Linked DNA regions of Homo sapiens: region 1 is linked to region 2. The links are contacts of gene promoters, found by promoter capture Hi-C in blood cells and fetal thymus (Javierre and others, 2016). All regions are on one chromosome and are shown on one strand. Each heading gives the region's core, a stretch centred on a gene start or on the middle of the fragment in contact. The rest is flanking DNA. Distances are from core to core; before and after follow the strand shown. Region 1 has its middle 81 kb from the start of LINC00293. Region 2 holds the start of PRKDC (protein kinase, DNA-activated, catalytic subunit).

Evidence for each region. The method cuts DNA at HindIII sites, captures the fragments that hold promoters and counts their contacts. A CHiCAGO score of 5 or more calls a contact.
Region 1: a contact is called between a fragment that was not itself captured here and the fragment with the promoter of PRKDC in region 2, in 1 of 17 cell types (total B cells). The highest score is 5.6, in total B cells.

Annotation. Positions count from the first base shown.
Region 1 is chr8:46,918,742-46,925,174 of GRCh38, forward strand. No RefSeq gene overlaps it. Among named protein-coding and RNA genes, the nearest start is that of LINC00293, 81 kb to the left of the region's middle. The HindIII fragment of the contact is 404 bases long and covers 3,843-4,246 here.
Region 2 is chr8:47,957,634-47,963,656 of GRCh38, forward strand. PRKDC (protein kinase, DNA-activated, catalytic subunit) reads right to left here and starts at 2,503. Exons shown (of 86, transcript NM_006904.7): 1 at 2,340-2,503. The coding sequence starts at 2,493. MCM4 (minichromosome maintenance complex component 4) reads left to right here and starts at 3,308. Exons shown (of 17, transcript NM_182746.3): 1 at 3,308-3,381; 2 at 3,498-3,581; 3 at 3,883-4,047; 4 at 4,420-4,583; 5 at 4,672-4,773; 6 at 5,131-5,226; 7 at 5,312-5,407. The coding sequence starts at 3,512. RefSeq lists an enhancer at 1,972-2,131 and silencers at 2,312-2,361, 2,372-2,671, 3,342-3,741. The HindIII fragment of the contact is 8,899 bases long and covers 837-6,023 here.

The DNA.
Region 1 (6,433 bases), core at 2,795-5,294, 1.0 Mb before region 2:
TGCACAGAGTGCACATTGGAAACCATGGTGATTTGATACACGCTGCCACGTCCACTCTGTGACTTCCTCCCCACCAGATTCACAGCAGCGGGACCTAAGGTGGGCTCCAGCCACTGCTGCACCAGGGGCCATCACTGCCTCCCAGGCTGTGGCTGTGCCCCTGCTCCTGGAGCTCACCCAGCCACAGCCTCCACCCCCAGGGAACCTTCTGGAGTTTGCGCTGGCCCTGGGTTCCTTCCCACAGGAGAGAGGAAGCCCGGCTGGACCCACGTGGCTTACTGTGAAATCAGCCAGTATGGCCTGCGGTGGGGAGAAGATCAGAAAGGTAGAGGACAGCACAAAAAGCCAGAAGGGAGAGACTGGAAGAGGAGGCAAGGGGAGGAGGGCGCCACTGTCCCCTCTGGGTCCTCTTCCTGAGAAGAAGTTGGACACAAGGAGGGAGGGGGGAAAGGAGAGAAGAGAAGGGAGAATGAGATGGAGAAGGAAGAGCATGCCAGAAAATCTCCGGAAAGAAGGGGCAAGGCCCAGTGGCTCAGGCCTGTAATCACAGCACTTTGGGAGGCCAAGGCAAGCAGATCACTTGAGGTCAGGAGTTTGAGATCAGCCTGGCCAACATGGTGAAACCTCATCTCTACTAAAAATACAAAAATTAGCCATGCACAGTGGGACATGCCTGTAATCCCAGCTACTAGGGAGGCTGAGGCAGGAGAATCGCTTGAACCCAGGAGGCAGAGGTTGCAGTGAGCCCAGATCATGCCATTGCACTCCAGCCTGGGTGGCAGAGCGAGACTCTGTCTCAAAAAACAAAAGAAAACAAACAAAAAAAAAGGAAGGGAAGGGGTGGCAACGATGCAAATCCTGCAGTCTCAGGCCCAGTGCCCAGGAGGACCCTGCACACCAGAGGCCCACGCCCCCTGTGAAGGGAGAGCTCCCAGCAGCTTTGCTTCTAGAGCTGGACTCCTCCTCTCAGCTGACACCAAGGACTCTGCAGGCCCACCCATGGCCAGCTATGCTCCTGCCTTGCCCTGCCTGAATCCAGGTCCCTTCCTTTGCCCTGCTGCCATCCTAGCAGGAGACAGAGAGAGGCCTCCTACTCAGAGTAGGGTGTTTGTGAAGGTGAAGGCAAACTTTATTTGAGATTTATTAACCTTGGTTGAGCAACTTCCAAAGGCTCTGCCACTGTGACCTAGGCATAGAGCAAGAGGAAATCCAGGATCCAAAGGGCCTTCCTTGGGAAACAGCCATCCAGTGGGAAGCCAGTGCCAGCCTGTCCTTTTCTCCTGCAGCTGCCTCTGGGCTCTGAAGGTCTGATGTAGAAATGGGGGAGCTGGCGCTGCACTGGGGAAAGTTTCTCTGGAAGTTTTTTTCTTTTCATTTTCCTAGAGGGGATTTCTTACTGGCAAAAATCTGGAGAATGGATAAGTAGTTGCCCACAGGTCATTGAGGGAGGAGAGAGCCAGGATCATGGCTACATAGACTCGGGAGGGCCTGGTGGGGTATTTGTCTCTTCCCTGGTGCCACCGGAGACAGTAAGTGCTAGGCCTTGCCACCAGGGCACCAGGACAAGCTGGGACAGGGCCAGGGACAGAGGCCAACAACCCTGGGGCCGTGGGGCCTCCTGCAGGCTGAAGAGGGTGCTGAGAGACCAGCCCTCCCAGCAGTGCAGGCCCCTTTGCAAGGAGCAGCTCATGCATTCTGCCCAGTCTGATGACTTTCCACCAGTCCTGACATGGCCAAGGTTTTCCTCGCTCGGTGACAAGGGAGGGATGCGGGATGTAGAAAACCCAAGATATCAGCCTTTCCGGTTCCAGCCCTGCCCGGGAAACATCAAAGGCATTGAACATTCCACACTGAGCTGTTTAGGGGGCACCACAAGGCGCTTAGATAAGAGGGGTCCTTGAGTATCTGGCTCCTCCATGCCACCCTCCCTGCCCTACATAGCCCCACTCTCCATACAGGCCACATGTTTCTGTCCTGTTTTGATGGGGCAGTAGCATGCCTTCACCTTGTCCAGTATGGCTTCATTCTTGACCCCCATGACCACTCCCGATGGCCTCACACTCCTCTACCCCTCACCAGCAGGGATGGGTGGGAACAGCCCCTCCAAGGACCCATCCCACCCGAGAGCCCACTCCTGTGGCTGCCACACTCATCCCAGGCCTGGAGAGGGTTTCTGCTCATCAGGACATCCTGTCCTTCAGGGCTTGGGATGCCAGCCCATGCACAGGAGGCTGTGACCTCAGGGAGGGAGCTCTGTTTCCTCTCAGGGCTGGGCAGTTACAGGGGAGGGGAGGAGGGGAGAGGCACAGGGGGCCAGGCAGGCTGCCAGAGAAGCCCAGAGGGCAGCACCTTCACTGGCCCTTCAAAAATCCATGCGCTGACCCCCAGGCTCCTGCTCCAGACCTTTTAAATTAGATCTCCAGGGAAAGGAGGAGAAAGGGTCAGAAGTTCTCATCTCAGTGCACACAGCCTGTGTTGCTTATCCTCAGAGGGCCCTGGAAAGGAGAATGAGCTGCGGAGTTGTCTGGGTGAAGGGGACTGGAGGCCAGGGGCTCCCCTGGAGAAGGACAGGTCAGGGCTCAGGGGAAGGAGGAACAGGCTGGGTGGGGCAAAAATTGGTGTCACCCCTCCTCTCCCATGGGCTTGCTTTGGGACACGTGCTCCCAGGGCAGCACAGTCTGTCTGCAGTCAGACCCAGGAGAATCAGACGATGCCTGGCAGATGACACATTGCCAGCAGACACTCGGAAGATGGCTGAGTGATAAATGAATGGACAGGGCACCGAGGAAGCTGTGCCCCTGCTGCCCATCACAAGGTCCTGCAGTGCCCTGCCCTCCTGCCCCACACTGTGCTAGGTGTTCATGCCAGCCCCTCACCCACCAAGTCACTCCTGTCTCTTGCCGATGTCCCAGAGGATGTGGGGTGAGACCCACCATCCACATGTGCCATGCACTGGCTCTGCTGAAATAAAGAAGATCCCTCTGGGTTAGGGAGGGCAGGTGAGAGGCCCTGGGGTCTGCACAGGTGGTGTCGGCTCAGGTTCCGCTTCTGCCTGCCAGCTGTGTGTCATGGGCAGATCAGCTCATTCTTCTAAAGCTCAATTTCCACTTCCACAGAACGCAGGCAACAGCAGCCCTTCATGGGGCTCTTGTGAGTCCTGTTATTTATCACACATGGAGTGTCTCCTAGAATTCTCTGGCACACAGTAGGAGCTTAATAACTGTTACTACCGTCATTCACAGATCCCAAAAGAATCCTTGATTGCTCTTTTATTCTGTTCCCAAATATGCTTACCTGCCTCTGTGCAGAGACCTTTGGGGATGGGGAAGGCGGTGAAGGGGGAGCACGTGGGCTCTGCCCCACCAAGCTCTTAGACACACCTGTTCCTATGCTGGGCTGCTGAGCCATGGATGGTCGCCTGGCCAGGGAGGTGCCCATCAGCACATCATGACTGACTGGAATGGAGCTGGGACAGACCTAAGGATGCAGCATTCTACAGATGAGAGCTGAGGCTCAGAGGAGTGAGGTGGCTTCAGCCACTCCAGCACAGCCATGCCTGTCCCCGGGTAGGCTCTGCTGTAAGCCATCCCTCCCCACTCCAACCCTGTTAGCTGGATTCCATTGTTCTCTCTGTTTTCTGGATAAGGAAACAGACTCAGGGTCACATGAAAATGAAATCCAGCTCTTCCCAACTCAAAAGCCAGCTGTGACTTCCTGTTGGCTGGGAACTGGCCCAAAGGCAGCCTGTGTGCCCTGTCCTCGAAGTGTCACTCAACCTTTCCTGTAAAAAATAGAACAACAGCACAGAAGCACTCCCATAAACTCACTGCCAGTGGGAAGAAAGCTTCAGAATGCAGAAAAGCTACCCAGCCTCCATGCCAGATGAATCTGAGAATCAGGAAAACTGGGGTCAAAAACCACTTAACGGGAGCCCAACTCCCAAGGAGCTCTTAGGAGACAAGGAGGAGTCAAGCCTTGGATTCCAGGCATTATCTGATTCCTTCCAAGCACGATCCCCAGACCCCAGATGCCAGGCCACCCACAGAGCCCTGACGTCCTCCTGTGGACACCCTCCCAGGGAGATGCCCATACTCCCCCAGGGATAAAGTCGCTTGGATACCACAGATGCTGCGGCCACACGGTGATGCTGGAGACTGGATGGAACTATAAAACATCAAGTTGCCTTTGAGAAGCTCTAGGGTCTGCAGCCCCAGCACCTGCACCTAGGTAGGATTTTTTCACCCCAAGCTTTTCTCTGTCTTGCATCCTTGCCGCCTTTCTGCCTATCTTCTCCATCTTCCTGGGAGCGGTGTTTGGCCTGCTCGCCCATCCACCTCAATGCACATGCCAGTCTCGGTTACTTGCCAACACCATGCAAGCTGCGGAGACACATAGAAGATGCACAACGTTTGCTCCCTGTCTACAGGGAGATGGCAGTCTCAGAGACGAAGCCAGACAAATGCCTCTGTCGTTTAAATCAATCATGTCCAACTACAATTGAGGACAAAGTAAGAGGACTGGTGATCTAATAACAGGAATTTAGAGAAGTGGGAACTCACCGAGTGGTCGGAGCCATCCTCCTGTGTTCAGGCTTGATGCATGAGTAAGATTGTACTATGTGGAATGGAGAGGAAGGGTGTGCTCGGCAAGAGGAACAGCAAGTGCAGAGGCTCAGAGGTTAAAGAGAGGAAACCAGAATGAGGAGTGAGGGCCAGAGTTGGGGCCAGAGAGAAATGCAGCTAGACTCTTATGGTAGTGGTGTGCTTAGCTGTGGTCTGTGCAGGATAGTTTCCGAATAGAGCAGGGAGACATGAATGCCCTGAGATCAAGGGCAGTGGGAAAGTGCCTTGTGGGGAGCCTGGTGTCTGCAGGCAGGCAGAGCAGGGACCAGGAATGGCTGATGGCTGGAATCGCTAAGCCGCATAGGATGGACTATTATAAGTTCAGCACCTGGACACTGGCCACTTCAGATCTGTCTATACTCAGTTGTAATCCAGGCCTTTACCATTGTCCTCCATATTTCCACCCAGCTTTCTTTTCCATTTATTGGAGAGCCAGGCCACCTGGGTTCTGGTGCTGCTGGATTCAGGCCCTGCCCTCAGGCTCATGGCAAGCAGGTAGACAAAGAGAAAAGTAGACAAAAAAGATGGGGAGAAACCACTAAGCCAATACCATACCCACATAAACTCCAAACTCACATGTCTTTTAACATGGCACTGGGTGCTCCTGCAGTGGAAATCCACACGTGTTGTGGTTACAGCATCTTGTCTCTGAAAAAACTTCACAACCACCATTGTGCTTTGCCCCGCATGGCCCTGCTCAGGGGTAACTGTCCATCTTCCCTAAAGGAGGAGAGGCTGCCTGATGTTCAGGGAGCCCAGAGGTCTTGGCCAAAGCCACAGCAATGCCTGTGGATATAGGCCCACAGAGCAGCCCTACTCAAACTAGGCCCTGGCCCATCAGAATGCTCTGCCCTACAAGCCCTGCCATCCCACCACCCACCCCTCTGCTGGGCCTTGTTGGGCTGCCATGGGAATGTGACTGGCCAGCTCTCAGTGCCCTGAAACCCATGAGGTAGACCATCGGGCCAGCCCAGCTGTTCTTGGATCCTTCCTGATGCATGCCAACATCTGGGGCCACTTGGGTCCCAAGGAGAATTGTTGAGCACCAGGGCAAGAAGCATAAGGACTCACACCATCCCTCCCAGGTTCCATCACCCATCACTTCACCTGGGCTTGCATGAGCAGCCCCATCAGGCATGAGAAGCACATAGCATGTCCTGCCCATGGGGAGGCCTCCCAGGGGAAACAGGCCAGGCTGGGGGGCCATGGGGCTTTACAAACATCTCAAAGGCAGCAAAAGGAGGACTTTTCCTCAGCCAATAGCACCCCAGGATTTGAGCCGAAAGTAGGATTCAAGACACATGACTCCTTGCTAGAGGGATGCCATTTTTAGGGTGAAAGTTTCCCCCAGTGAAAAAACTATGCCAGGAGGCCAGCTCAGGTCAGCATCTCCAGTGCCAAACTCAAACAGATAGTTGATGTCTGGTGATAAATAGTGAAAACTTCAAGGAAAGGAAAGGCCGGGCCCATGCTTTGGACATTTATGTTCACACATCAGGAACTTTTTGCCAAGTGCATAACCATTCAGAGGTACAAAAAATTAACAAGAGCCACAGAAAAGAGGGGTATTCTATAATATTGCATAATACATGGTGGACTTGTTAATCACTGTATCACATAGGCCAGTGCTTTATGCACAGACTTGCTACAGTGCTCTCTTTTCATTTACCCCAGGGTTTATCTCTACACTAAGTCTCTCCGGGAAGTTTAGATGCACAGCTTCTGAATCTCTTCATACCAGAAATCCTCCCAGCATCCCAAACCTTTTGTCGGCAGTTCCTGCCATTGGAGGAATTATTGCAAATGGTGCA
Region 2 (6,023 bases), core at 1,253-3,752:
CCAAGTAGCTGGGACTAAAGGTGCCCACCACCATGCCCGGCTAATTTTTTTTTTGTATTTTTAGTAGAGACGGGGTTTCACCGTGTTAGCCAGGATGGTCTCGATCTCCTGACCTCACGATCAGCCCGCCTCGGCCTCCCAAAGTGCTGGGATTACAGGCGTGAGCCACCGCGCCTGGCCAAGGTTGCAACGGTTTTCAAGGCAGCCTTATAAATATAAAACACTAACCCAAGGTTGCTGTATTAAAACAAAGCAGAAAATTCTAGACAATGTTCCACAGGGATGCAGTACGCAAAATAATGGCCCCAAAGATGCCTGCATCCCAATCCCTGGGGTCACATCTTGTGAATATGTTAAATGTATATAGCAAAAGGAAATTGAGCTTGCAGATGGAATTAAGGTAGCTAATCAGCTGACCTTAAAATGGGAAGATCATACTGGATTATCCAGAGAGCCCAATGTAATCACACAGGCCCTTAAAGTAAGGAGATGAAGAAGAGTGGGTCAGAGAGACAGGAAGTTGGGAAAGCGGGAGATTCCAAACCTCTAGTTAGGGGGACTTGACATGCTGTTGCTGGCCTTGAAGACCAAGGGAAGGGAGCTGTGATCCAAGGAAAGGGGACAGCTTCAAGAAGTATGGAATGTCAGGGACCTCAATCCTATATAACCTGAATGAATAAGGCAATGGATCCTCCCCAAGAGCCTTCAGAAAGAAAGCAGCCCTGTCTGGTACTTTGGTTCTAGCTTGGTGAGACCTGTGTGGGATTCTGACTCACAGAATCCCCCTTACAGTGGGAACTGTAAGAGTAACAGACCTGTGCTGTTTTAAACCACTAAGCTTGTGGTAATTGTTACAGCAGCAATAAGGAACTAATACACTTCCCCTGGAATCTCTCAAGTGAAAGGAGATATGGCATAAATGGAAGGTAAACTTGGAAGTGCTTTAGAAACAAGTTACTAAACGAACAAAAATGAATTCTAAATTTGAAACCCTGAGAAGAGAAAGTAATCACGCAATGTTAGTTTTTTGTTTGATATTTCCCCATTGTTAATATATTCTTGACAACAGATAGAGTACATATAGGATACATGTATATAGCATCTTTTTTTTTTTTTTTTTGGGACGGAGTCGTGCTCTGTTGCCCAGGCTGGAGTGCAGTGGCACAATCTCGGCTCACTGCAATCTCCTTCTCCTGGGTTCAAGACATTCTCCTGTCTCAGCCTCCCGAATAGCTGGGACTACAGGCGCTCGCCACCATGCCCAGTTAATTTTTGTATTTTTAGTAGAGACAAGGTTTCACCATACTGGTCAGGTTGGTCTCCATCTCCTGACCTCAGGTGATCCAGCTGCCACAGCCTCCCAAAGTGCTGGGATTACAGGCATGAGCCACCGCACCGTGCCACATATAGCATCTAGTTTAAACTGTTTAAGTTATTCCTACACCATATTCACTACTAGACCCTCCGGAAGAAAATCTCACCTTTTAATAGGGCACAACATCAAGGTCTGCATACTCGTGTTTTAAAGAAGGAATACAGGAGATCCACATAATTAAGTATTTGAATATTTAAAATGCTAAAAAGAGGCACTTTTACTACAAAGGGGAAAAAGTTCCCACCCAGGCATTGCTAAAGAGTTAAAAGAACATGACTTCAATTACATTTCTTCAATTTTTCTCAAAGTAGGAACGGCAAATAGAGGGGTTTGGAAAAGGTACTGGTGGGATTAGGCGAGATTCAGGTGAAAGAAAATACTTTCTCTTGGCCGGGCCCGGTGGCTCACGTCTGTAATCCCAGCACTTTGGGAGGCCGAGGCGGGGGGATCACGAGGTCAGGAGTTCGAGACCAGCCTGACCAACATGGTGAAACCCCATCTCTACTAAAAATACAAAAAAATTAGCCGGGCGTGGTGGCGCGCGCCTGTAATCCCAGCTACTCGGGGGGCTGAGGCAGGAGAATAGCTTGAACCCGGGAGGCGGAGGTTGCAGTGAGCCGAGATCGCGCCACTTCACTCCAGCCTGGGCGACAGAGCGAGACTCCGTCTCAAAAAAAAAAAAAATTATTTCTCTTGCCCTGCCCCCCACTCTGCATAGCAATGATTGCCATATTAGGGGTCGTTTTCACCAACTTTGGCTTTAAAATATCTTTCCTCTAATACTAGGGGGTAAAAAGCAGTATGACAAATCCCTTTATACACATACACAGAAATTCCCCCAAGAATCTAATTGCTGTACTTCAAAATACCGTCATCTAAACACAGAGAAGCGCCGGGCTGCCCGGCTCCAGAACGACTCGGGAAGCCAGGACCCACCCGCGGCCCAGCTCGGGCCGGTACCCACCCAGCACCGCGGGGCTGCTGCTCAGGACGCATTCCTGCCCCAGGCCGCGGATCAGTTGATGACCGGCCAGGGCAGCACCGCAGCGGTCCGCAGCGGACAAGGTCTCCTGCAGCCGCAGCAGGGAGCAACGCACACCGGCTCCGGAGCCCGCCATGCCGCCGAGTCCCGCTCCCGCGCGTGCGCCCGCTCGGCCCGGACCCGGAAATGCCCCTACGCGCGGAGGCGGGGCTGCGGGGCGCGGCGGCAGGAACTTTCCCGGGGACCCCTGCGGGAAGGCCTGGCCAGTAAGCGCGCCTCTTTGGCCCGAATCAACATGGAAACCTAAGGAAAAACGTCTGACCTGCGGAGGTAGTTTGGGTGGCTACTTGGTGTTGGACTTGGCTAAATAAATACCAGAGGCAGATAAAACAAGCGAGGGGCCTAGGTCAAGAGTTCCAAGTTTGTTCCTCGATAAAAAACGACAAACGCGGTCGGGGGCGGTGATGCCCGCCTGCAGTCCCAACACTTTAGGAAGCTGAGGCGGGGGGATCGCAGGAGTTCGAGACCAGTCTGGGCAACATAATGAGACCATCCCCACCACCTCCCGTCCTTAATTTTTTTTAATAAAAAAAATCTTTAAGTGAGAAATGCATCTGTAATGTCCTTATTAACCAAAAACGCCTAAGGGATAAAGAAGCACACGCTCCCTAGCCAACGCTAGAGGAACACACCCCGAGAGCTGGTGCTGTAGGACCCAGTTTTCCCGCGAAAACGCTGCCGCGCAGGGGGTCAGACCATCTGGACCAAGGGGGGCCGAGCGAGGCCTACTTCTGGTTTACGCACGGGCGCTGAAAGAAGCGGCACTGTCCCCCCCTGCCGATGCGCAGTGGCGCCTCCCGGAGGCGGAGCCACGTACGAGCGCCGCTGTGATTGGTGAGGCCCCGCCAGGGGCGGAGACGACCTTGCCGCCGGCGGGAACTCTGGGTCTCGCGGTTTGGGAGCGCTACTCGCCAGGTGGACTCGGAGTCCGCGAGCGTCGTCGGCAAGCGGCCGCCTTTCCACGGTAACCGCGCGCCGGCGGGGAGGGCGTGGCGCGGAGCCGACGGGAACGTCCGCGCTGCGGAGCAGGGCAGGGAAGCCGGGAGGCGGGCCCGGCCCGAGCTTGTCCTTGTCGCGCAGGTACTCCGAGCACTATGTCGTCCCCGGCGTCGACCCCGAGCCGCCGCGGCAGCCGGCGTGGAAGGGCCACCCCCGCCCAGACGCGTGAGTCCCCCGAGCCGGGCCCACTACAGCCCCCGGCGCCGCCCCGTCTGCCCTCTCGCCGCAGCTGGCAGCGCTGGGTGGGTGCGCGGGACCCGGGCGCTCAGCCTCGGGCTGGGCGCTGCCGCTTGGTGCGCACAGACACCCACAGCAGGCTGTGGCCTGGGTGCTGCTTAATTCGATTGCCATTTGCCTCTGTTTGGTTTGGTTCAGTGGTGAGTCATAATGCCCCAAGGAAAAGACAAATCCAGGAAGGCCGGCCCTGAAAGTTAATGGCTGTCTTTTCTGTTTTGTGTGACACAAGCTCGGAGTGAGGATGCCAGGTCATCTCCCTCTCAGAGACGTAGAGGCGAGGATTCCACCTCCACGGGGGAGTTGCAGCCGATGCCAACCTCGCCTGGAGTGGACCTGCAGAGCCCTGCTGCGCAGGACGTGCTGTTTTCCAGCCCTCCCCAAATGCATTCTTCAGGTGCGTGTCTGAAGATCTTGGTTTTGCTGTGCTTGATACACAGCTGATGCTTTATCTGCTCAGGTTTACTGGCTTTATAACAGTTGGCATAACGCCTAAAGCATCCCCTCTGCACGTGACTGAGCATGTTCTTAACCAGAGGAGCTGAACGGAGTGCAGAAAATAGTAGTTTTAGGGCTTAGTGAGCAGAGGAAGCAGCTTCTCTGGTGCTTTTTTTTAATAGAACATTTAAGAGTGCTCAGAATCTCAGCCACCGCAGGTTGCAATAAATATTCAGTTTGCTGTTGCGATTAGATGGTATAGATCAACAGACAACATGCTGTAATTTCAGGTTTGATATGCCACCAGAATTTCCTAATTTTGTTTTTATAGCTATCCCTCTTGACTTTGATGTTAGTTCACCACTGACATACGGCACTCCCAGCTCTCGGGTAGAGGGAACCCCAAGAAGTGGTGTTAGGGGCACACCTGTGAGACAGAGGCCTGACCTGGGCTCTGCACAGAAGGGCCTGCAAGTGGATCTGCAGTCTGACGGGGTGAGTATGCAGTCTCCTGAAACCATCTTATGGCGGGTATCATGTGGGTAACTCTGTTTTCATGATTCTGTCATGTTTTTCTGTGTAGGCAGCAGCAGAAGATATAGTGGCAAGTGAGCAGTCTCTAGGCCAAAAACTTGTGATCTGGGGAACAGATGTAAATGTGGCAGCATGCAAAGAAAACTTTCAGGTGAGCTACATGTATTAAAATTCTTACTTTGGGCTCTGAAAATGTTGGGAGACCGTGTTTATAATCTATATCTAAGTAGCCATAATGACTAGAAGGGCCACCTGTGGTGGCTCACACCTATAATCCCAGTACTTTGGGAGGCCAAGGTGGGAGGATCACTTGAGGCCAGGAGTTTGATAGCAGCCTGACCAATATAGTGAGACTCCATCTCCAAATTAAATTTTAGAAAAGAAAAAGGAAGAAAAATATTATTTATTTCTGTCTCCTGATAGTGACATACTCATAACTTTGTGTGTTTTTAGTAGTTGCCTGTTCCCAAATGCTATATGCCTAATACAGTTTTCTCTCCACTTAAAGAGATTTCTTCAGCGTTTTATTGACCCTCTGGCTAAAGAAGAAGAAAATGTTGGCATAGATATTACTGAACCTCTATACATGCAACGACTTGGGGAGGTAATCAAATACTCTTTAAATTCAAGTTACGTGTTTTAAAATAGTTAAATTAGCAAAATATAACTTGTTCATTTTTATTTTCTAGATTAATGTTATTGGTGAGCCATTTTTAAATGTGAACTGTGAACACATCAAATCATTTGACAAAAATTTGTACAGACAACTCATCTCTTACCCACAGGTAAGAATTTAGCTTTGACCTTGATGAATTTTAGTAACAGTCTAGAAAGAATGTTTCCAGATAACAGAAATTCTTCAGTAATGAAGATAGTATGCGCAAACACTTTAAGAAACTGAGTATCATCTCCTTTGGCCCGGTGTGGTGGCTCACACCTATAATCCCAGCACTTTAGGACGCCGAGGCAAATGGATCACTTGAGGTCGGAAGTTTGAGACCAGCCTGGGCAACAAAGTGAAACCCCATCTGTACTAAAAAATACAAAAATTAGCCAGACATGGTGGTGCATGCCTGTAGTCCCAGCTACTCGGGAGTCTGAAGCGATAGAATCACTTGAACCCCGGAGGCAGAGGTGCAGTGAGCCGAGATGGCACCACTGCTCTCCAGCCTGGGCAACAGTGAGATTCCATCTCAAACAAACAAAAAAAAACTATGTATCATCTCCTTTAAGATGAACATTTTTTTTTCACATTTTAATGTTCCTGAAAGTGGGACTTGTATTACTATCAATGACAGGTTATGGTTTACTTGGCAGTGTTTTTCATGTAGAAAAATGATGAATCTTAAAACTGATAGCTTCTTGGGTTTCATGAAGTAAGTTATCTTAAATGGAAATACT